Linked DNA regions of Homo sapiens: all the other regions are linked to region 5. The links are contacts of gene promoters, found by promoter capture Hi-C in blood cells and fetal thymus (Javierre and others, 2016). All regions are on one chromosome and are shown on one strand. The core of a region is centred on a gene start or on the middle of the fragment in contact, and the rest is flanking DNA. Distances in the headings are between cores, read along the strand shown. Region 1 holds the start of ANXA9 (annexin A9). Region 2 overlaps SETDB1 (SET domain bifurcated histone lysine methyltransferase 1). Region 3 overlaps SETDB1 (SET domain bifurcated histone lysine methyltransferase 1). Region 4 overlaps ARNT (aryl hydrocarbon receptor nuclear translocator). Region 5 holds the start of ECM1 (extracellular matrix protein 1). Region 6 overlaps ARNT (aryl hydrocarbon receptor nuclear translocator). Region 7 overlaps MINDY1 (MINDY lysine 48 deubiquitinase 1).

Evidence for each region. Contacts are between HindIII fragments. The CHiCAGO score rates a contact against its expected background, and 5 or more counts as called.
Region 1: a contact is called between the fragment with the promoter of ANXA9 here and the fragment with the promoter of ECM1 in region 5, in 1 of 17 cell types (neutrophils). The highest score is 5.1, in neutrophils.
Region 2: a fragment that was not itself captured here is called in contact with the fragment with the promoter of ECM1 in region 5 in 1 of 17 cell types (fetal thymus); the score reaches 5.1 in fetal thymus.
Region 3: a fragment that was not itself captured here is called in contact with the fragment with the promoter of ECM1 in region 5 in 1 of 17 cell types (neutrophils); the score reaches 6.8 in neutrophils.
Region 4: a contact is called between a fragment that was not itself captured here and the fragment with the promoter of ECM1 in region 5, in 1 of 17 cell types (neutrophils). The highest score is 6.3, in neutrophils.
Region 6: a contact is called between a fragment that was not itself captured here and the fragment with the promoter of ECM1 in region 5, in 1 of 17 cell types (total B cells). The highest score is 5.1, in total B cells.
Region 7: a fragment that was not itself captured here is called in contact with the fragment with the promoter of ECM1 in region 5 in 2 of 17 cell types (fetal thymus and erythroblasts); the score reaches 6.2 in fetal thymus.

Annotation. Positions count from the first base shown.
Region 1 is chr1:150,980,769-150,983,930 of GRCh38, forward strand. It overlaps ANXA9 (annexin A9), which reads left to right and starts at 1,524. Exons shown (of 14, transcript NM_003568.3): 1 at 1,524-1,611; 2 at 1,719-1,815; 3 at 2,322-2,412; 4 at 2,570-2,666. The coding sequence starts at 2,338. LOC105371438 (a long non-coding RNA gene) reads right to left here and starts at 737. Exons shown (of 3, transcript XR_922135.3): 1 at 653-737; 2 at 436-545. RefSeq lists an enhancer at 2,048-2,909. The HindIII fragment of the contact is 18,662 bases long and covers 325-3,162 here.
Region 2 is chr1:150,961,733-150,964,694 of GRCh38, forward strand. It overlaps SETDB1 (SET domain bifurcated histone lysine methyltransferase 1), which reads left to right. Exons shown (of 22, transcript NM_001366418.1): 17 at 398-426; 18 at 855-987; 19 at 1,242-1,407; 20 at 1,798-2,009; 21 at 2,263-2,351; 22 at 2,515-2,962. The coding sequence ends at 2,632. Among named protein-coding and RNA genes, the nearest start is that of CERS2, 12 kb to the right of the region's middle. The HindIII fragment of the contact is 977 bases long and covers 1,001-1,977 here.
Region 3 is chr1:150,943,771-150,946,947 of GRCh38, forward strand. It overlaps SETDB1 (SET domain bifurcated histone lysine methyltransferase 1), which reads left to right. Exons shown (of 22, transcript NM_001366418.1): 8 at 150-223; 9 at 1,148-1,338; 10 at 3,116-3,177. Among named protein-coding and RNA genes, the nearest start is that of SETDB1, 19 kb to the left of the region's middle. RefSeq lists an enhancer at 339-483 and a cis regulatory region at 411. The HindIII fragment of the contact is 8,160 bases long and covers 1-3,177 here.
Region 4 is chr1:150,838,954-150,842,356 of GRCh38, forward strand. It overlaps ARNT (aryl hydrocarbon receptor nuclear translocator), which reads right to left. Exons shown (of 22, transcript NM_001668.4): 6 at 488-701. Among named protein-coding and RNA genes, the nearest start is that of CTSK, 32 kb to the left of the region's middle. The HindIII fragment of the contact is 6,848 bases long and covers 1-3,403 here.
Region 5 is chr1:150,505,988-150,509,393 of GRCh38, forward strand. It overlaps ECM1 (extracellular matrix protein 1), which reads left to right and starts at 2,122. Exons shown (of 10, transcript NM_004425.4): 1 at 2,122-2,292. The coding sequence starts at 2,223. TARS2 (threonyl-tRNA synthetase 2, mitochondrial) reads left to right here. Exons shown (of 18, transcript NM_025150.5): 18 at 929-1,615. The coding sequence ends at 1,077. The HindIII fragment of the contact is 8,833 bases long and covers 1-2,142 here.
Region 6 is chr1:150,856,542-150,859,806 of GRCh38, forward strand. It overlaps ARNT (aryl hydrocarbon receptor nuclear translocator), which reads right to left. Exons shown (of 22, transcript NM_001668.4): 2 at 1,808-1,919. Among named protein-coding and RNA genes, the nearest start is that of ARNT, 18 kb to the right of the region's middle. The HindIII fragment of the contact is 364 bases long and covers 1,139-1,502 here.
Region 7 is chr1:150,998,753-151,002,040 of GRCh38, forward strand. MINDY1 (MINDY lysine 48 deubiquitinase 1) reads right to left here. Exons shown (of 10, transcript NM_001376665.1): 3 at 2,973-3,030; 4 at 2,498-2,562; 5 at 1,705-1,863; 6 at 1,110-1,212; 7 at 617-759. Among named protein-coding and RNA genes, the nearest start is that of MINDY1, 6.5 kb to the right of the region's middle. The HindIII fragment of the contact is 1,422 bases long and covers 1,003-2,424 here.

The sequences.
Region 1 (3,162 bases), core at 274-2,773, 470 kb after region 5:
CGGGGTTTCACTGTGTAAGCCAAGGCTGGTCTCGATCTCCTGCCTCATGATCCACCCGCCTCGGCCTCACAAAGTGCTGGGATTACAGGCATGAGCCACCGTGCCTGGCCACATTACCTTATTTATTTATTTATTTATTTATTTATTTTTATGAGTTCAATAGTTTTTGGGGACAAGGTGGTGTTTGGTTACATGGATAAGTTCTTTAGTGGACACATTACTTCATTTAATCATCCCAGGAAACCTGTCCTCGGAGGCCCCAGCATGTCCCACAGCCTCCGTCTCTCTCAATCCTCCCATTTAGAGAGCTGAAAGGACTAGCGAAGCTTACAGAACATAGGTGGCAGAGCTGGATATTGAACCCTCATTCTCCAGTTCTGACACAGGTGCATGTTTTCCTTTTAACAGGAGAGAAAAGTGAGGAGCAGTGATTACCGCCACAGAAATATCCTTTCATGGCGTGTCCTCCGGCATGGTCTACTCAGTGTGGTGGAGCCACTGCAGGTCCCTCCTCCAGGGATGTAGGAATGCCAGTGAAGGCCTTCCTGAGTTGGGAGAGAGGCAGAGGAGTGAGTGGAGGCAGGGCTGTAGCTTCTGTGCCCCGCCCCTACCCAGGCTCTCCAGGGAGGCAGGAAAGAGGCTGTGTTTAGACCTGAGGGAGCCAGCTGTGAGGCTGGAGCAGTTGCTGCATGGCGGGGCGGGGGCTCCACAGGGCTGTTCACCTGCTGCTCTGTGCAGAGACAGCCTCAAGTCCAGCTGCTGGGGTTGCATCACCTGCAGCTAAAACAGCCACAGGGCCCAGGCTGCCAAAAGGCAACAGAAGCAATCTAAGAAACCAGGCAAGGGAGCCTCCCCCATCTCCCTGTTGCCTTTTGGGAGCATAGAGCTTCCCTCTGAAGGTAACACCCTTTGCATTTTTCTCTCTTGACTCTGTTCATCAACTTCCACTCCCAAATACTTGTGCCCTTCCTTCTCCACAGATATACACAATCCCTGGGCACTCTCCACCTAGGTCAGCTGGCTCTAGTAAGGCAGCAGTCAAGGGAGTTTCTGGGCTGGGACCCCCTCTGGGGTGCAGGCTGGGGTGCCCTGCTGGTATGTGCCCCAACAGGTTTTTCCCTATCAGCCTTGAAATCAGCCTGCAGCCTGTCTGACCTGCCCCCCAGGGAGCTGGAGCCAGAGGCAGAGCCAGGTCAGAAGCTGGGGCAGAGCCAGGTCAGAAGCTGGACTTTGAGACTAGGTCTCTGTGGTCCCACCTGGACCCACAGGGAAGGCAGTGCATAAAAGCCTCCTGTGTTTGAGGCTGAGCCGCTGAGAGGCTGAGTGGAGTTCACTCACATGGATTGAGGCCCAGTTCCTGGGAGAAGAGATGCTGGGCAGGAAGGTGTCTGCATGTGGGACTCTGTACAGCCCGGTCCTCTCCCACGTCTGGGAGGGGCCAGAGTCAGACAACTGCTGGGTTCGTCCCTAAGAGAGGTCATCTGACTGGCTGTTCAGCCTAGGCTGCACACACCCCCACTTTCCTCTACCAGGCCACACCGGAGGCAGTGCTCACACAGGCAAGCTACCAGGCCACAACAACGACACCCACCTCACCTCTGGCACCTCTGAGTAAGTACTGGGCCCACGGCCCCATGCCAGGAGGGCTTGTTGATTGCTTGGGGGAGGGAAAAATGAGTTTTCCTTTTCCAACATGAGAGTGCCTCCTTTCTGTCCAGGCATCCACGTACTTGCAAGAACTCTTGCTCACATCAGCTAAGAGATTGCACCTGCTGACCTAGAGATTCCGGCCTGTGCTCCTGTGCTGCTGAGCAGGTAGGCAGCTGTACAGGCAGGAATTGAGGGTTGCTTGTCAGCTGGGGCTGCCGGTGGGGGAAGATGCTATTTCGAGTTGTCTTCCACTCTGCGTGGTTAATCCTGCCACCTCACCTCAGCTCCCCTGCACTGCCCAGGAGACCCCAGCCAGGCCCAGGAAGGAGGGCCATAGACCTCAGAAGGGAGGCATCTACCGCGGACCAAGGCCTGAGGAGCTTTGGTGCTGACCCTGGCATCAGGGAGGGTTGGCGCCTGGTCCAGGAGCATTCCGCATCAATCCCCACTTCCTAAAGGAGTGGGGAGAGGTGGGGAAGGTGGGGGCTCCCCTCTTACCTCACCATTTCAGCTCCATTTCTGGCTCCAAGCCTAAGCAGGTTGATCTTTTTTTCTGCAGCAAGGAAAGGAACAGGTGACTGGAACCCAGGGTCCAGGGTCTCGGGGGGGTCATAAGGAGTCCCTGAAGGGCCAGGAAATTCAGCTCTGTGGGCTCCTGTTTCCTTCCCCAGGGCAACCAGTAGCACCATGTCTGTGACTGGCGGGAAGATGGCACCGTCCCTCACCCAGGAGATCCTCAGCCACCTGGGCCTGGCCAGCAAGGTAGGGGCTGTTGGGATTTTAGAGATCACTTTTAGTATCTCAGCTCGGGCTGTGAGAGGATGGGAGGCAGGAAAGTGGAGGACAGGCCCTGAGGTTATGCTGAGGAGGTGTAGGCAGCCTGGCCCTGGCCCTTGCCAACTACCCTGTGCTCCCACAGACTGCAGCGTGGGGGACCCTGGGCACCCTCAGGACCTTCTTGAACTTCAGCGTGGACAAGGATGCGCAGAGGCTACTGAGGGCCATTACTGGCCAAGGTGAGCCCCTTTCCCCCGGCACTTGAGACTGCCTTTTAGAGCCAATCTGTAGACCAAGGAGGAGCCAGGAAGGAGGAACTAGTGATGTTGGAGAAATGTTTGTGGAATGCCTTCATTCTTGTATGTCAGGCGCCACAGTAGGTGTGTCAAACCCATTCTCACAACACCCCTGTGAGGCAAGGCTTATTATTTCCATTTTCCAGATGAGGAAACTGGGGCTCAGGGAGATTAAGAGGCTTGCCCAAGGTCACTCAGCTCATGACGGAGGTGGTATTCTCATCTAGGTCAGCCGATCCCCCCAAGTCGTATTTTTTTTTAACCACCACACCAGGCCACCTTTGCCTTGGTCTGGGTCAGATTTGCATGCTGTTTTGACATTTTATTTGCAACTTCTTTTGAGATAAAATGGAAGTGGGGGTGATATAGCCCCTGCTCCTTTCCTTCCCAGCCCTCTCCTGGAGCGCCTTCCCTCCTCCAAGGAGTAGGAACATCCCAC
Region 2 (2,962 bases), core at 239-2,738, 460 kb after region 5:
GATTTATAAGTGATTTTTTAATGTTAAATGCTGTTTCAAGTTATTCACATCATTGTTTCCTTCTACTAAAGTAGAGAAACAAGAATTGATTTTAAGTATCTCTTTGATGATTATGCTGCTTTCCACATTACAGATGGTGAAACTGTCCCTGGTTGATGTAATCCTGCTCGTGGTGTTTTCCATGAGCATTAAGCCCCATCACTGAGAAGGCTTAAAGGCTCCAGCCAGGGAGTGTAGTGAGGATTTCTGTCAAGTTGCAGAGTGGTTTACCCACCCCACTTTAGAATGTGTACCTGTCACTGGCTGATGTTATCTGTGGAGGTCATTTGAAGTCTGATTATTGGACTTGTTACCCGAGGCTGTGAAAGCATTTAACCCTTCACTTGTTCTTTTCCAGGACACTGACGACCGAAACAAGATGTCAGTGTAAGTGCCTTTTGTTTTGTTTTGTTTTGAGACAGAGTCTTGCTTTGTCACCCAGGCTGGAGTGCAGTGGCGTAATCTCAGCTCATTGCAACCTCCCCCTCCCAGGCTCAAGAGATTCTCCCACCTCAGCCTCCCTAGTAGCTGGGACTACGGGTGTGCACCACCATGCCTGGCTAGTTTTTGTATTTTTTGTAGACACGGGGTTTCACCATGTTTCCCAGACTGGTCTTGAACTCCTGGGCTCAAGCGATGCTCCCAAAGGGGATCCTCAGCCTCCCAAAGTGCTGGGATTACAGCCATGAGCTACCGTGTCCAGCCCAGTGCCTGTCTTTTTGACCTGTCTCCAAATCTGCCTTCTCTCAAACCTAGGCTAGAAGCCTAAGAAACAGCCAGTAACCTGTTGGCTTCATTCCTTCCCCTCCCATTAGAGTTACTGAAAGCTCTCGAAATTACGGTTACAATCCTTCTCCTGTGAAGCCTGAAGGACTTCGCCGCCCACCTAGTAAGACTAGTATGCATCAAAGCCGAAGACTCATGGCTTCTGCTCAGTCCAACCCTGATGTAAGTCACCTCAAGCTTATTCAGAGTCTAATAAAGGAAAATGGGCCATTGTCACCTCATCAAGTCCTTCACTATAATTACTGTTAGGTCTTCTCCTACTTCTTTAGCCTTGACTTCCTGCCTTATTTTCTTTCATCCAGCATCTAATCTTCCTCTTGCCACCGCCCTTTCCTGCCAAACCGTGGGTAACAGCAAGGACTTAAAGGAGCCCTTCCCATTTACTTCTCTTACTTCTTACCCTCCTGCTTCCCCAGGATGTCCTGACACTGTCCAGCAGCACAGAAAGTGAGGGGGAAAGTGGGACCAGCCGAAAGCCCACTGCTGGTCAGACTTCGGCTACAGCGGTTGACAGTGATGATATCCAGACCATATCCTCTGGCTCTGAAGGGGATGACTTTGAGGACAAGAAGAACATGACTGGTAGCCTGGAAAAATTTTGGGAATGGTGGGAAGAAATAGTAAGAAACTTGGGATAGAGCATTTTTTAAGGAAGCTAAAGAAGTAGTGGGTAAAAATTCAGATCCTAAGAATTGGAGCATCTCTGGGAGGGCTTTCTGACTCCAAGCTAAACTATTGTTTGACACATCCTCTCTCATTTCCATTTTTTTACTCTTTCCCCTCAGCTCCTTTGTCTAGCAGATCTAATTATGCTTGAAAAAAAAACCTGCTACTTAGGATCTTTGAGTTCCAGCTTATTGGTGTTTCTCAGCTGCAATGTTGGGAGAGAAATAGGGGTAGAATGTCCATTCATGATAGAATGTCTGTTCATGAGTTGGGATGGGTCCTGACCCCATTCTCCCTCCTGTCCAGGTCCAATGAAGCGTCAAGTGGCAGTAAAATCAACCCGAGGCTTTGCTCTTAAATCAACCCATGGGATTGCAATTAAATCAACCAACATGGCCTCTGTGGACAAGGGGGAGAGCGCACCTGTTCGTAAGAACACACGCCAATTCTATGATGGCGAGGAGTCTTGCTACATCATTGATGCCAAGCTTGAAGGCAACCTGGGCCGCTACCTCAACGTGAGACCCCTCTCCCCACCTCTAGATGCTGGATTATCCCATGGTCCTCAGATTTCTTTTAACATACTCTATAAGCCCTTTTCTTGTTATAAACTCTTGATCTCAAAGGATCTTAAAGAGGTAGCTTTCTTTCAAAGCATCTATTATAATGGGGAGGGTCAGATGGCATCATTTTTCTTCCAACTCTCACTCTCCCTGCAAAGCCAGGTTCAGTTTCCCTGGTTCTTATTTGATCCTGTCCTTAAACCTACAGCACAGTTGCAGCCCCAACCTGTTTGTCCAGAATGTCTTCGTGGATACCCATGATCTTCGCTTCCCCTGGGTGGCCTTCTTTGCCAGCAAGTAAGGAGTCAGGAAAGGGGATGACTGGGGAGGGGCAAGGACCACTGAAGTTCTAAGGGCCCCTCCTCCATTCATGATCCAACTCCACCTACATATTCAGTAACCCCAAGTGCCTGGGTTATCTGCTGTCTTTGCCACACACCATCCTTTTCTTCCTCTTCAGAAGAATCCGGGCTGGGACAGAACTTACTTGGGACTACAACTACGAGGTGGGCAGTGTGGAAGGCAAGGAGCTACTCTGTTGCTGTGGGGCCATTGAATGCAGAGGACGTCTTCTTTAGAGGACAGCCTTCTTCCCAACCCTTCTTGAACTGTCGTTTCCTCAGGAACTGGGTCTTCCTGATTGTTGAACCCTGACCCGAAGTCTCTGGGCTAGCTACTCCCCCCAGCTCCTAGTTGATAGAAATGGGGGTTCTGGACCAGATGATCCCTTCCAATGTGGTGCTAGCAGGCAGGATCCCTTCTCCACCTCCAAAGGCCCTAAAGGGTGGGGAGAGATCACCACTCTAACCTCGGCCTGACATCCCTCCCATCCCATATTTGTCCAAGTGTTCCTGCTTCTAACAGACTTTGTTCTTAGAATGGAGCCTGTGTATCTACTATCTCCAGTT
Region 3 (3,177 bases), core at 268-2,767, 440 kb after region 5:
AACAGGAAGAAAGTAGTGGACTGGATTGTCTTCCCTGGAGTGCATCGTGTTGTGATCCAGAGAAGTAGAAGCTATGATAAAATAATTTCTGTGGATCATGTTAAATATCATAACCCCCAGATCTTTCTGCTGTCACTCTTCTTTTATAGGTTTCTCATTTTCTTTGATGATGGCTATGCTTCCTATGTCACACAGTCGGAACTGTATCCCATTTGCCGGCCACGTGAGTGTTTCTCCCTTATTCCTTAGCTCAGTTTTCTCCTCTACCTTGTATTTCTTCTTAGGACATCCAGTTGAAAAGCCCTAGTGTTTTTGGTATTTCAGTCTCAAAGAGCATAAGTTTGGTTGATGTCTTTTGCTCCCAAAGGTCAGTTTGCTCCCAAAAGAGATACAGTTTTATTGTTCATCTCCAGGACTGGGTCTTTGTAGACAAAGAGTGAGACACTAGAAGATCATGAATGGCCTTGAGTAGACTGCTCACGTTATAGATGTGCTTCAATTTCATTTCTAAGTGAGTTACGTTGGAAAAGGTGTTACTTCTTTCCTAGTGTCATACTGCACCTAACATTTGTATAAATGTGTAGTCTGCATAATGCTTTCCACAGAAGCTGTGTTAGATGGAACCTCATAGTGTCCACTATATTTGTTACCCTGGCTTGGGAGCAGACTCCTATGGAAACAATCATTTTTAACTGCAGAAGAATCAACTAACACTTTTGTTTACACATAACATGACAGTAAACACATTCTGAGTCTCTTAAAAACCTGATAGAGAATGAGAAGGAAGGACTAATTTTTTTCATTTCATGATGCCACCTGATCTTTTTAAATTTACCACTAGACTGATCAACAAGTGAGCAAGAATTTCCACTTGAATTTTCCAGAGGAGAAACATCCATTTGTGTAAAATAAGTGAATCACCTATATTGTACATTTCTTATTTAGTATTTACTTGATTTGTAAGTATGTACAGTTTGTACATTAGGTTTATTACTTAGGTGGTCTTGGCTTTGCTTCCCTTGAGGTTCTGATTTTACTTTTTCTCTCCTTTTCAACTTAAAAAGTATCAAATGTCTCCTGGCCAAGTCTTTTCCCTATCAAGACATGCCCTACCTGCCCTCTCAGTTCTACTTCTTCCTTGAAACAGTGAAAAAGACTTGGGAGGACATAGAAGACATCTCCTGCCGTGACTTCATAGAGGAGTATGTCACTGCCTACCCCAACCGCCCCATGGTACTGCTCAAGAGTGGCCAGCTTATCAAGACTGAGTGGGAAGGCACGTGGTGGAAGTCCCGAGTTGAGGAGGTGGATGGCAGCCTAGTCAGGATCCTCTTCCTGGTACTGTTCTTCTCTACAATTTTGGAGGCAGAGGTTGGTGGGGGGGGAACTTAAGAAGCAGTAATGAGGATGGTTTTATAGCTATTCCATAGCCTTCCTCTTTCTTATCCTCGTATGTGTTCTCACTGTTTTTGGTCAAATTTTACTTTGCCCTTTTTGTTGTTCCTCTGCAGGTCATTGTTGAAAATAAATTATCTGAATTATAATACGAATCTGCATGGTTTTGATTTATTTATTTTTTTTCTTTAGGAGTATTCACATTGTGTGTAGGTACAGAAAGGGCAGCCAATTCCATTTTTCCAGGGTTAAGGTTTTAGTAGGATAGTGGGACGAAGAAGAGGGATCAAGGAGTCCTGATTATCTTTCAAGGCTCAGTTTAACTCTTAGGTATTTTGTACTCATCCTTTTCTCCCTTCTCTCTCCCTTCTTAGAATCATATTTCTTATTTTTAAAAGTTTTAAAAACATTTTTTAATACTGCTGCTTGCAGAACAAGGCTACCTGATAGGCAGTGTGCCCAGAGTAGCCAGAAGAAATTAGAAGTTATATTTCTTCTTGGTGTTACCTCAGCCCGTTACTTCTAAGGCCTTATGATCCTTATCATGCTTTTTGTTTGGTGTTTTGTTTTGTTTTCAGACGGAGTTTCACTCTTGTTGCCCAGGCTAGAGTGCAATGGCACGATCTCGGCTCACTGCATCTTCCGCCTCCTGGGTTCAAGTGATTCTCCTGCCTCAGCCTCTCGGGTAGCTGGGACTGGCTAATTTTTTGTATTTTTAGTAGAGACGGGGTTTCACCATGTTGGCAGGCTGGTCCCGAACTCCTGACCTCAAGTGATCCACCTGCCTTGTCCTCCCAAAGTGCTGGGATTACAGGCGTGAGCCACCACGCCTGGCCTGTTTTGTTTTGTTTTGTTTTGTTTTGTTTTGTTTTTTGAGACAGTCTCACTCTGCCACCCAGGCTGGAGTGCAGTGGTGCAATCACAGCTCACTGCAGCCTCAACCTCCAGGGTTCAAGTGGTCCTCCCACATCAGCCTCCCAAGTAGCTGTGACTACAAGTGCATGCCACCACACCTGGCTGATTTTTGTATTTTTAGTAGAGACGGGTTTCGCCATGTTGCCCAGGCTGGTCTCGAACTCCTGAGCTCAAGCAGTCTGTCTGCCTCATCCTTTCGACATACCAGGATTATAGGTGTGAGCTATTGTGCCCAGCTGTCATACCTCTTATACTCAGTATAGATATCTGTTGCTCCTGTAATTCCTTAAACAAGGAGTATATATTTTTCATTGTTGTGTTCCTGATACCCATCATGGATCCTGGCACATACTTTATTAAGTAGATAAGGAATTTTTTTTTGGGGGGGATGGAGTTTCGCTCCTGTTGCCCAGGCTGGAGTACGATGGTGCAGTCTCGGCTCACCACAACCTCCGCCTCCCTGGTTCAAGCAATTCTCCTGCCTCAGCCTCCCGAGTAACTGGGATTACAGGCATGCGCCACCACACCCGGCTAATTTTGTATTTTTAGTAGAGACGGGGTTTCTCCATGTTGGTCAGGCTGGTCTTGAACTCCCAACCTCGGGTGATCCACCTGCCTCAGCCTCCCAAAGTGCTGGGATTACAAGCTACAGGCGTGAGCCACTGTGCTTAGCTTAGACTAAGGAATTTAAGGCTCATCAGGGAGGATTCCCAGAGGTGACACATGGTATATATCCTCTACACAGGACAGGATAGATTCTAGCCTTTAAGCTATTTCCCTTCATTCTTTTCTCTCAATTCCCCAGGATGACAAAAGATGTGAGTGGATCTATCGAGGCTCTACACGGCTGGAGCCCATGTTCAGCAT
Region 4 (3,403 bases), core at 484-2,983, 330 kb after region 5:
ATGTTTACGCCTTCTTTTTTTCATAGTGATCACATGTAACAGAGCACATCCCTAAGCAACAATTAGACTCTCAGTTCTTCTATCACCAAAGGTGGGACAGATTCATTCTATTACTAAAACTAGAAGCTGCTTCAGGGATAAGAAATAGATTTCTTCCATCTTCTATAACCCTAAAGGCAAGAAAGAAAATTGGTTCCATGGACATAGTCATTTCCTCTGTGATTCCACTGTTCTTCTTCCATCCTATATGCTATATTCATGAGTCAAGTTCTCAAATATTAATACTTATTAGCTTATTAAATAGTTTTCACAACTCTTCTCTACTTCTCATTGTCCCAATGCTAATTAATGTTATAGCCAAGGATTGAAATTCGTTTTCCCATTGTCTGACTTCTTCCTGAAAAGCTGAATTCTTGTCCAAAAAACGAAAACTTTCAAGAGATTCACCCAGATTCCAGACTCTCTCAGAACTATAAGTCCCAGAGACCTGATCAGTGAGGAAAGACGGCTTATAGGAGCCATCAGTGGATGTGTTGCCAGTTCCCCGCAAGGACTTCATGTGAGAAACTGCCATGCGTAAGATGGTTAGCTTGTCTGGTTTTCGAGCCAGGGCACTACAGGTGGGTACCATATCTGACAGTTCTGTGATGTAGGCTGTCATCTTGTTCCGTCGCCGCCGTTCAATTTCACTGTGATTTTCCCTGCATGGAAAGAAAGAGAAGCCCCATCCAGGTGGTCACATCTGGTCATTTGGTAGCAGGGAGAGTGATATGGATACCAAGTGTGCTGCTGAAGAATGTGGTATTCAGATTTAGTGATGCTTAAGTCTCAGCAGTTAAAATAAGGTTTGCCAACCTTCTCATGCAAAGCAAGCATGAAACAGAACTAATAAGGCAGACAGAGAACAAGAAGATAATGTAATTCCCTTCCCCCTATTTCCTGGAAACTTCACATCCTTTGTAAATTACCACTCCCTCAGAACAAAAGCTGTTTTAAGAAACGACAGGTCAGGCATGGTGGCTCATGCCTGTAATCCCAGCACTTTGGGAGATGGAGGCAGGTGGATTACTTGAGGCCAGGAGTTTGAGACCGGCCTGGCCAACATGGTGAAATCCTGTCTCTACTAAAAATACAAAAATTAGCAGGGCACAGTGGCATGCATCTGTAATCCCAGCTACTTGGGAGGCTGAGACAGGAGAATCACTTGAATCTGGGAGGTGGAGGTTGCAGTGAGCTGAGATCACACCACTGCACTTCAGCCTGGGTGGCAGAGCAAGACTCCATTTCAAAAAAAAACAAAAAACAAAAAACAAGAGAAAAAAAAAGATAGTATTTTTAAATGCTGATTTTACTCACTTAAGTTCCTATGGAACATATAACCTCAGCTTGGTTAACTCCCATGCTTACTAATTCAACTATTTAAAGGCCAGAAAATAAAAGGACCAATTTTTGCCAACTCAAGTATGTGGCTCCATAGCTGATACAAGAATTGATAGTACAGATTTCCTTGGTCTATAAAATATGGTAAGCCTCTCTCTTATTTGCAACATTAAAAGGCAGAATTTGAAGATTTTGAAGTTTTATTTGGCCCATTAATGCACAAAGTCCTACCTTCTTTATCTGGGTGTGCTGCCAGTGCACTAAACTTCTTACAAGACTTAAGATACACCATCTACTAAAAGTCCCATATGGGTCCCCAGTCTGGGACGAAGTTAACTGGAGGAGTGGAATGGAGAGGAGGATGATTAAAGGTCTGACAAGACAATTTGAATCTCACCCAGGTAAATAGACCACAGCTCCAACACTGACTTCCTCAAAATTAAGACAGAAAGATATCACTGTTAACAGGAATAATCCAGCAGTTTTCCAACAGGAATTTTTAAAAGCCCATTAAGTTTCTCAGTGTCCTCCATGGGGATGCCTCAAGGAGATAATCATGCAACATGCTGCATTTCTGCTTCTACTCAAATATTTGCCTTATCTCTCTTCTTCTTTTTTTTTTTTTTTTTTTTTGAGATGGAGTCTTGCTCTGTCACCCAGGCTGGAGTACAGTGGCGGGATCTCGGCTCACTGCAACCTCCGCCTTCTGGGTTCAAGCAATTCTGCTATCTCAGCCTCCCAGGTAGCTGGGACTACAGGCGCACACCACCACGCCCAGTTTTTTTTTTTTTTATTTTTAGTAGAGACGCGGTTTCACCAAGTTGGCCAGGATATTCTCCATCTCTTGACCTCGTGATCTGCCTGCCTCGGCCTCCCAAAGTGCTAGGGTTACAAGCATGAGCCACTGCGCCCGGCCTGCTTTATCTCTTTTATTTATTTCTGTTACCACTTAAGAATTCTACTTGAACAAAAGTTCTTTGTCCAAAAAAAAAAGAAAGTAAGAAAATTAAAAATCTAACATAAATCTCTTTTTTCTGAGAAGAGCAAAGGGAGGTCAAGTAGGTAAGTGACTTTCCCCAGGCTGCTCTCTTCCCAATACAATGTTTTCTCCACCACATCATGCCAAATCCATTTTCTGAACAGTGAAAGGGTTAGTAAGAAGCTCGAGTTAAACTGGCAGCAAAATGAGTTTGTGACCCAGATTAAAGAGGAAATAGTAGAAAAAAGGGGGAATATAGTAAAAATGGGTATTGGCATCAATGATCTATTTCCTAAGTCACCCCCAAATCACAGATACTAGAAAACAGAAAAGTCTATGCATATTTCTTCTGCAGCATTTCTACATTACAAACAACAGTCTCCCAAGAGAATTCTAGAGTCTCCTTTCTAAATGGCAAAAAGGGTCTCACCACATAGGCCCATATTTAGTTACACTTTGCCTAAGACATAAAATTCTATTCTCAAACATAAAGCACTCATCTTCCTAGTATCTGACAGATTTCTGACACGTAAGTACAGAAACCTGGTCTTTTAAATAGCCACATCAAGGAAACTAAAACTTTTCTAGAAAACTACCGCAAGAAAGGATTCGGTCACCAAAGCAACACTAGTTCTGTTGTGAGAATAATCTAGGCTGTGAGTCTTCATAGGAAAATAGGTGTGAGTTTCCTAGAGGTGTGGAGTAAATGCTGAGGCCTAAATACTGGGAACTAATCACAAATACAGATATATTTATTGGTTTTCTGATAAAAAGAGTATTTCCCTGTTAAAGCACCAACTGGCACGGTTGCATTCCTTCTAAGAGCTTTTTGTTCTGTGAAACTTAGTACTGACATAAAGAGAAAAAGAAAAAAAAACTTAAAACTAATAGCAATTTCTTAAATCCCTAAGCAAAGTTCCCTCAACTCACCCACTTTCTGATGGGGGAAGCCAAAGTTCCTGTTACACTCAAACTTCTAAAAAATCTTGTCCTCTCTTGCCACAGATAAGGAAAAATACAAAGAGAAAGGGGAAGAAAAGAAAG
Region 5 (3,406 bases), core at 872-3,371:
AAGGGACGGGAGGGTTAATACAGCGTTAATTACCCTTGTTTATTTTAGACCTAGATGGAATCAGCCCTAAGGGATGAGGAGAAAGGCCTTAGGGAGAAAATTCTGGCACTGCCATGCTCCCTTTTTCATTTTCCAGGGTTCAGGGCTCTATCTCAAAGGTGAGGAGCAGAAACTCCTCAGCCAGATTACCTGATTCTTGAGTTTTGCACACCCCACTCTCCCTACAAGCACCCAGAGCAAGCTGTGCTGCAATCCCAGGGACTTGTACATGGCCCCTTTCCCTCCCTTACCGCCCAGTCAGCCCCTGCATACATCCTCCTCAGCAGAGGCCCCTCACTCTGTGAATCCAGCCCTAACAGACACCAAGAGCCAGAGTGGGACTGATGAGAGGAAACTGTTCTAAGGGTCAGAGTGGTTGGGGGGAGGCGGGGCAGTGTGAAGGCCACACCACTCCTGCCACCTTCCACTTGCTCTAATACCCCCTTCAGACACGCGCGCGCACACACACACACACACACACACACACACAGTTTCTCTCTGTGGGGTTCTCATTGTTTGTCTTTCTCTGCTTGACTCTAATGTCTCTGACACACACACACACACACACACACACACACACAGTTTCTCTCTGTGGGGTTCTCAGTGTTTGTCTTTCTCTGCTTGACTCTTATGTCTCTGACCCTGGGGCTCTTGACCAGAAGCGATAAGGCCTGCGGGGACTGAAGCACTTCCTTGTCTCCTCAGGATGAGCAGGACTGGTCATTTAGTATTAGCAGACACAGCTGAATACTTCCTTTCTGTGAACCATATCTGGGCTCTGCTCCCACCCTTCCTAAAGATTTAGGTCTCTCAAGTTTCTGCAGAGCAAAAGAAACTGTTCCATGTGGGTGAATTTGCCCTGAGGTTCCCAAACTTCCTCTACCTGCAGTGGTTGGCCAGAAAGAGCAAAGTAAGAGAACAGTGAACATTCGGACTCGAGATAATCGTCGCCTTGGGGAGTGGGACTTGCCTGAGGCTGTGCAGCGACTGGTGGAGCTACAGAACACGAGGGTCCCAAATGCCGAAGAAATTTTCTGAGCCTTTGTACATAGATGAGGCAAAAACCTGCGAGTGCCATCAGCCTCCCTCACATGGGAGACCCCAACCCAGCTGACAATGTGGAGCCCCCAGAACTTCAGAACTGTGTGGAGGCACATGTCTGCTCTCCTGAAAAGAGACTTGGTTTGGGGACCCCACAAAAGGAGGGAAGCTGTAGCTGTTTGGATGTGAGGAGAATGAAACTACAAAAAAAAATAAATTGGGCCAGGCGCAGTGGCTCATGCCTGTAATCCCAGCACTCTGGGAGGCTGAGGCGGACGGATCATGAGGTCAGGAGATCAAGACCACCCTGGCTAACACGGTGAAACCCTGTCTCTACTAAAAATACAAAAAATTAGCCGGGCATGGTGGCACACGCCTGTAATCCCAGCTACTCAGGAGGCTGAGGCAGGAGAATCGCTTGAACCCGGGAGGTAGAGGTTGCAGTGAGCTGAGATTGCGCCACTGCACCCCCCTAGGCGACAGAGCGAGACTCTGTCTCTAAATAAATAAATAAATAAATAAATACAAACTGGAAGCTGCTGGTCATATGTCTTCATCTCTGACTCTGGAGAGGTGGGATAAAAGGATGTTCCACTTTGTCTCCCTCTTTTTTGTCCCAGAGAGTTAGGGAAATTGAAAAGGGACAGTCCAGACCTCACACTGGTAGGGGAGATCCCTTGGATAGGTTTCCTGCTCCCCGCTGTAAACTCCTTTGTGCCCTGTTTCCCCAACCCCAGTTCATGAGTTGGCAGATCCCCTCTCCACAGAAGGCAGCCTGTAGATGGAGAAACTGAGGCACAAACTAGGGGCTCAAACACCTCTTGCTCCTGGATTCTCTGAATCAGTTTCTCTTGAAGGTCATAAGAATGTTCTCCTCTAATCAGTCCCATTCTTCTCAATCCTCTGAGGAGGCTTCAGGGTGACTTTGGGAGGAGTGGCTTCCAGAGGAGGAGCAGCTGGGACTGAGTCATGGCAGGAAGCTGAGGAGGGCGGGAGATCACACCAGACAATTATAAAAGAAGAGCTGGTCCTGAAGCTCACAACCGTAACAGCCACCAGACAAGCTTCAGTGGCCGGCCCTTCACATCCAGACTTGCCTGAGAGGACCCACCTCTGAGTGTCCAGTGGTCAGTTGCCCCAGGATGGGGACCACAGCCAGAGCAGCCTTGGTCTTGACCTATTTGGCTGTTGCTTCTGCTGCCTCTGAGGGAGGTGAGTTGGGGGATCAGCACTTAGGAGGGGGTCTGGGCTTGCATGGCAGGGGTCTGGGTCCAGGCATCCCAGACGGCTCATCACTAGCAGAGTGATTCTCCGTTTGGCTTTCCTTTTCTGAGCAGGCCCAAAGTGGGCCTAGGCCAGTGGAGCCTTTAACCAAGGAGGCAGAGAGCAGGGGCACAGAAGGAGAGGGGTTCCTAGAAACTGCTGCCAAGAAACACAGAATCCCAGTCAAATAGACAACTGAGTGGGGGGTGGGTTCACAGAGTGAGGGTCTCCTGCTGATGAGGATGTAGGGAGGTGGCTGGTGGGAGAGGCAAGGGAGGGAAAAGGGGCCCCCAGGCTGCTCAAAACCGGATTGCTGGCCCAGCAAGCCTCGACTGACTCCCTGTCTGATTAGAGGAGTTGAGGGGTGTCCATCCACAGACCCACCCTCCATCCAGCACAAACACATTCTTTATCTGCTTTGATGCCTGAACAAAACAGGAACCCCTCAATGCTATGGGTGGAAACTAAGAAAAAAAGGAAAAGAAAAGGAAAAAAACCACCCAGGGCACTCCTGCAGGAAGCTGCTGAGGATGTCAGCAAATCTGTCCACTTCTCTGTGAAGCCCCATGCCATCATTCTTCCCAGCTCCTGGTCTTTTGTGTCTGCAGATCACCTACAAGTGACCCTTCCCTGTGCCTGTCCCAGTCCCCCAGGCCCTAAATTGAGACCTAAACTAAGGCGGAGCTGAGACTGGCTGAAGGGGAAGCACTCAACCTTCAGGAAGCCTCCTTAACCAAAGGCCTAAAGATGTTTCAAGGGCCTGGAGTAGGAGGGTGGGTGGAGGAGGTGGATTGGGTAGGCTCCAACCAGCTCAAGGTCCAGACTTTTTCCTCTGAAAGCTAGAGACGCATCCCAGCAGAGACTGGGGAGGACAACCCACAGCCCTGAGGGAAAGACTGGCAGAGGAAATGAGGGCCTCCCTCCCCAATCCCGTATGCCATACTCCCTTTAGGCCCAACCTCTGAGCCAGTAGAGGTGGAGCTATCAGACCGCCACAGGCTTTCTCAGAACCCAGCTGGTCATGTCTAGGTGTGTTGGGGCTGGGAGAGGATTAGGGGACACG
Region 6 (3,265 bases), core at 71-2,570, 350 kb after region 5:
CACCTGAGGTCAGGAGTTCGAGACCAGCCTGGCCAACGTGGTGAAATCCCATCTCTACTAAAAATACAAAAATTAGCTGGGCGTGGTGGCGCACGCCTGTAGTCCCAGCTGCTTGGGAGGCTGAGGCAGGAGAATCCCTTGAACCAGAGAGGTGGAGATTGCAGTGAGCCAAGATCACACCACTGCACTCCAGCCTGGCAAAAGAGCAAGACTCTGCCTCGAAAATAAATAAGTAAATAAAAATAAAAGAAATATTAAAAGACTTCTTTTAGGACAGGTGAAGTGGCTCACGCCTGTAATCCCAGTACTTTGGGAGGCCAAGGCAGGAGGACTGCTTGAGCAGGAGTTTGAGGCTGCAGTGGGCCATGATTGTGCCTCTGCACTCCAGCCAGGGTACAAGACCCTGTCTCTAAAAAAACCAAAAAGAAAATTTTTAAAGACTTCCTTTAATATATTTTTCTGATTACCAATCATACATGTTCATTTCAAAAATCTGAAAAATCAAAAACAAAAGAAACCGTAAGTCACCCATAATACTATTACCCAGAAATGTGGTATATATTCTTTCAGTTTTTTCCTATGTACATGTTATACATATCTTTTGACAGTGAAATACTATAATACTGTAACCTTTCTTAATAGATTGTGAACATCTTTCTACACTGAAACATATTTGTCGCTTATAACTACATAGCATTCCATTTTAAATATACTATGACTTTCTCAAGTGATGCCCTAATTTTGATATTTATAATACTTTTGTTTGTTACTGTACATAAACATAACACAGTGTTTAAAGAGTAAGCTACAAAGCTAAACCCCTAAGGTTCATATCCTATATCTGACACTTACTAGCTTTACAATCTTAGAAAGTTACTTATTCAGCTTATGCTTCAGCAAATGGTTAAAATCTGTAAAGCTACTGAACATATAACAAGTCTTAATATGTTACTCATGTTACCACTGAACCCAAGCATCACTCTTCCATTACTATTGGTGGGACAAAACTTAAAGACTGGTTATAATTAGCTGCACAATTTTTAAAAAGAAAAAGAAGGAAAAAGGAAAATTTAATACCAAAAAGTAAATAAAATAGTGCCCATTCTTCCAGGCCCCTCTAAGGCAACCTCCTTTCTGAAGCTTTTCTCAGTCTTTACCAACAAATGCATATTTCCATACACAGAAAAACATAGTATCAAATTTGTTCCTAACAAAACTAGGCATATTCTATCATATATTCATGTGTATAATAATTATTTCTATCAGAACACAACCAACTTAGAAACAAGGACTGTGTCTTATTCATCTTTGTATCCTACTTGGAATCAGCACAATGCCATAACACTAATTAGGAATTTAATAAATACTTTTGGAGCTGAATGGACTCTGCATTCCAAACCAAGCAACATATCAATAACTTAGAAGACAGCTATTCTAGAGCTCAGCATTCTCTAAATTCAGAAAAGCAGCCTACCAAAATGATTTTGGGAAAACAGAAACAAAGCTTAATGAAAGCAGCAAACAGTTTTCTCAGGCATAGTAAAATCTCTGGGCTTAGCTACAGTCCTTTATCTTACGGAAATTTTGGTTTAAAAAAAGAACTGCTTACGGGAAACTTGGATAAAAACAAATTCTTCATAAACAAAAATACAGGGACTAAGGAGACTTATATGACAGTAGTGTAGTAAGTAATCAAGTTGAAGTGAGATGGTCAGGAATAGCGAAGTGAGTTCAGCAACTAAATAAATTCAGCAACTAAAGTTGGTTTATAGGAGAGATATTCATAACACACTACACTCAAACTCACCCTGGTCGCCGCTTAATAGCCCTCTGGACAATGGCTCCTCCACCTTGAATTCCAGGTCCAGAGTTTCCAGAGGCAATGGCTGGACCCAGTGATGGTACATCTGATGTCATTTCTGTCAGGAAAATAATGAAGTAAACATTTTTAAAAAGACAGTCCTTGCTTATCATCAGTATCATCAAGTTAGCTAAAAGAAAGGTTCAAGCTATAGACAAAATCTCAGCAGTTTGCTAAAAATCCCAAATGCTCATATCCAGATTGCTCTTCTTGATTTTTTTTTTTTTTTTTGAGACCAGGTCTCACTCTGTTGCCTGGGCTAGAGTGCACTGGTATAATCACTGGTATAGGTCACTACAGCCTCAAACTCCTGGGCTCAAGCAATCCTCCCACCTCAGCTTCTGGAATAGCTAGGACTATAGGCCCGCACTACCACACCCAGTTAATTTTTTTTTTTTTTTTTAGAGATGGGGTCTTGATATGTTGCCCAGGCTGGTCTTGAACGCCTAGCTCCAAGAGATCATCCTGCTTTGGCATCCCAAAGTGCTGGGATTATAGGCATGAGCCACCACACACGGTCTCTTCTTGAATTCTTACACTGGTACAAGATATCCCCATACTTCAGTTCCCCCCATGTCATAGAGTTTGGAAGAAGTACTATATTCTGCAAACTTCATGTTAAAAAGCTTATACATACATAACAATATACTAATATTGTATAGACTTAATAATATACTAATTTTAAAAAAATACATACATAAATGGGTTTATACATTTCATTCATGCAACAAATATTTATAACTTATTTTATTTATTGTGATTGGAAAATACAGAAAACCCCAAAGGAAAAATCACCTAAATTCCAATACTTAAAAGAAAATTATGTAAAGTAAAACTGAAAGTCCCTCATTATTGTCTCCCTTTCCTGCCCCCCGTACCTCTCCTCTCTCCTTCCAATTCAATCTCATCCCCCAGCAGTAACCATTAGTAACAGCTGAGTACTTTTTTTTTTTTTTTTTTAAGACAGGGTCTCACTTTGTCCAGCCCAGGCTGGAGTACAGTGGCATGATCATGGCTTACTGCAGCCTCAACCTCCCGGGCTCCAGTGATCCTCCTGTCTCAGCTTCCTAAGTAGCTGGGACTACAGATGGGTACCACCACACCTCGGTGATTTTTTTTTTCTTTTTTTTTCTTTGTAGAGATAGGGTCTCACTGTGTTCCCCAGGCTGGTCTCAAACTCCTGAGCTCAAGCAATACTCCCACCTCAGCTTCCCAGAGCACTGGAATTACAGGTTTGAGCCACTGAGCCCAGCCCTGAGTATATTTTCTCTTATTTTTCAATCTCAGTTTATATATACCTAACTCTGTAATCAAAAAGAGGTGCAGGCTGGGCACAGTGGCGGATGCCTGGAATCCTAGAGCTTTGGGAGACCAAGGTGGGCAGATCACTTGAGCCCAGGAGTT
Region 7 (3,288 bases), core at 464-2,963, 490 kb after region 5:
CTGGCTAAGCGTGGCATGGAGTCGTTGGGGCTGAGATGCCACATAAGACCCTGCTCCCCCCATTTCCCATTGTTCTCTGGGCTTGCCTGATGGCTCTTAGGATAAATCCTTTGAGAACCAGAGACCCCTCCCTCTGCTGCTCAAATCCTAGAGAGCTTTGGCAGTTTCTAACTTTTGAAGACCAGCATTGTTTAAAAATTCCACTGCCCCCTCCTAGGGGAGGATCATACTTTCCTGTCCCATCGACGGCAGGCTTATCCCTTATGGCTTGCTCTGGCCAGAAGATGTGAGCAGAAATGACATGTGTCATTTCCAAACAGAAGCTCTAAGCATGAGTGCACAGTGCCCCTCTCTCTCTCTGTTCCCACATATATTCCAGATAAAGGATCTTTTGTCAGCTGGGTCCCAGAGTGAAGATGGTGTGGGACAGAACCGTAGCCAGTCCACAGTGGACACGCACCAGGAGCGGGAAATGAACCTTTGTTGTGGTAAACCACAGGGATTTGAGGGGTCACTTGCTACCACGGCTTAATCTAGCTGATCCCAGCTGGACCCACGAGAAAAAGGCACCAGGAAATGACAGCACCGCAGCACGCCACCCCCAAACTCGCATTACCTTATGCTTAGTCATGGTGCTAAAGTGGTTGTTTCGGAAAAAGACGCTAAGTTCACCCTCCTTAGCAGCTGCTGTCAGCTCACACAGTCCGTGGTAGGTCAGCTGGGCCGCGGTGGTCTCCAGGAACTGCTCTGCAATCAGGCCTGCCAGAAAGGGACGAGTCGGGGGAAACTTGGCTTAAATTCAAGGTCCACAACAGGAAGGACCATCCAGAGAGCCCCTGTCAAAAGCCCCGGGGGGTCAGTCCCACCTTCTGACGTCCCTTTCTTGAAACCTGGCTGTATTCATTCACTTAACAAATACTTATAATAGAGCAGCTACCTTGTGCCAGGCACTGGGGATACCTCAATGAACTAAACAGAAATTCCCCAAGCTCCTTCTTGTGAAGCTTATATCTAGTGGGATGTGGTAGGAGATGACACCCAATAAAAAATAAGCCTAAGTAGCTGTCATTCCCTCCACATACTATCCATGAGAAGGGGAGGAATGTCACCTTCTGTCACGAGGTTGGTGTCACTGGAGTGTTTGCAGGTGATGATCCTCTCCACCAGCTGGTTGTAACTCAGTTTCCCAACTGCACGCACAGCCTCAGGACTCTGCTTGGGTAGTGGGATGTGGGATACCAAAAAAATTGGGATTTTTTTTTCTTTTTTAAGGAAGGAAATGAACAAAGCTCACAAGGACTACAACCCTGTGATGAATGGTTCCTAAACACTTTTTTTTTTTGGTCTCTCAAAAAAGAAAAAAATTTCAGGAACCATTCATCATAGGGTTGCTATGTTGCCCAGACTGGCCTCGAACTCCTCCCAAGTAGCTGGGAATACAGGCATGTGCCACCAAACCCATCTGCTTCCTGAATTTTTGATGTCTAAAGAACTGACCTATTTGCATGTAGTTTGCTTGTATTTGCATGTTACCCCCAAAATAGATTAAAATTCAAGGAATTCTGTACTGGGTCCAGTCTCTAAACACTATTTCCCTCCCAAGCCAATCTAACCCCTAACTCCCTAACCTCTACCCGACAAAAATTTGCCTCTCTCATGTCAGCTTGAGCTGGATAAGGTCCCAGTGGGCCCTCCCACCCTCACCTGTGGATCAACAAGCCAGCCATGGTACAGAGGTATGCCTAGCAGGTCAAAGACACTGCACTCGGGTGTATACTCAAAATCAGAGACGCCTGTGAATCGCACATTGACATCCAGACCTGTGGCCAGTTTAGGCAGCACTGTCATTGCATCATCCACATTCTGGGGGTAGAAAAAAAAATGATGGAGATTCTAGCCTTCTCTCCCACCACTCCACTCCCACCTGCAGAAATTAAAAATTAACCTTGCTGCTCTTCTTCCCTGATTCTCTTACAAGCCACTCCATTTCTCCCTTGCCTCAACCCTTCTCTATCTTATATAAATGAACATTGTTTTTCTTTGAGAGTCTAAGTCTAATTCTTTCATCCAGGCTGGAGTGCAGTGGTGTGATCCTAGCTCACTGCAGCCTCAAACTCTTGGTTTCAAGTGACCCTCCCACCTCAGCCTCCTGAGTAGCTGGGACTACAGGCACGCACCGCCATACCTGGCTAATTCTTGAAAAAAAAAATGGTTTTTTTTAGAGACAGGGGTATTATTATGTTGCCCAGGCTGGCCTCGAACTCCTGGCCTCAAGTGATCCTCCCGCTTTGGCATCTCAAAGTGCTGGGATTACAGGTGTGAGCACCCGGCCAATGAACATATTTTCTAGGACAAAGATAAACTCTCCTCTGACTCCTGCAGAATGAAATCATGGTTCAAGGAAACCTCTGAAGAAGCAACAAAAGCTTATCTTAGTATTACAAGATGTCCCCTTACAAACCTGCAAACCCCTATGCCTGCAGACCTTTTGCCTCACCTGCTGAAAATTAAGCTGAAGTCCCTCTGACTTCTCCTGGGGCTTGATGGACAGGAGGCAGTTTCCTACAAGACAGGGCCCCTTATCAGCTTACCCCACCAATCATCCCAAAAGCTAAGTTTCCTCTTCTCCTGGAGAATGCGGGTAATGTCACAGAACACAGATTTTCAGAGCTGGAAAATACTTAGAGTCTAATCCAGACTCTTCATTTCTCAGAGGAGGCGACAGCCTCATAAAGGTGAACGGCCCACCCAGGGTCAGATACAAAAGCTAAGGGCAGAATTGGTGTTACAACCCAGGACTCCCGACGCCTTTGCTTTTCATTCTCCAGCCTTGCAGAGAAGCCCCATAGACCCTTACCCTCCCTGCTGTATCAGAACCCCCAAATGGAGATCCCTGAATAGTCTGGATTTCTGGCTGAGTGGATAGCTCTGGAGCCCCTTGGGTAATTCCTCTTCAACGCCCAGTCACTCACCAAGATGGGCCATGAGCTCATCCGATGTGATCACTTCCTTCTGCGGGGGGAGCTTCACCTGGAGGCAGAAGGGGTGATCACGTGTGTGCTTTCCTCCAAAGAGCACTGAAGGAAGAACCCATGGAAAGGCAAGGGGGAGCTCCAGTAGTAGGGTGGGGTAGGAAAAAAGGCTTGCAACTGGCACAAGGGAATGAATGTGAAATCTTGCAAGGCATGTGCATTTGCTAGGGAGTAGGAGATACAGGGGTAGGACAGATCTTCCTCTTTTTTTTTTTTCTTTGTTTTTAGGAACATCTTATCTCATTTGCTCAAGCTG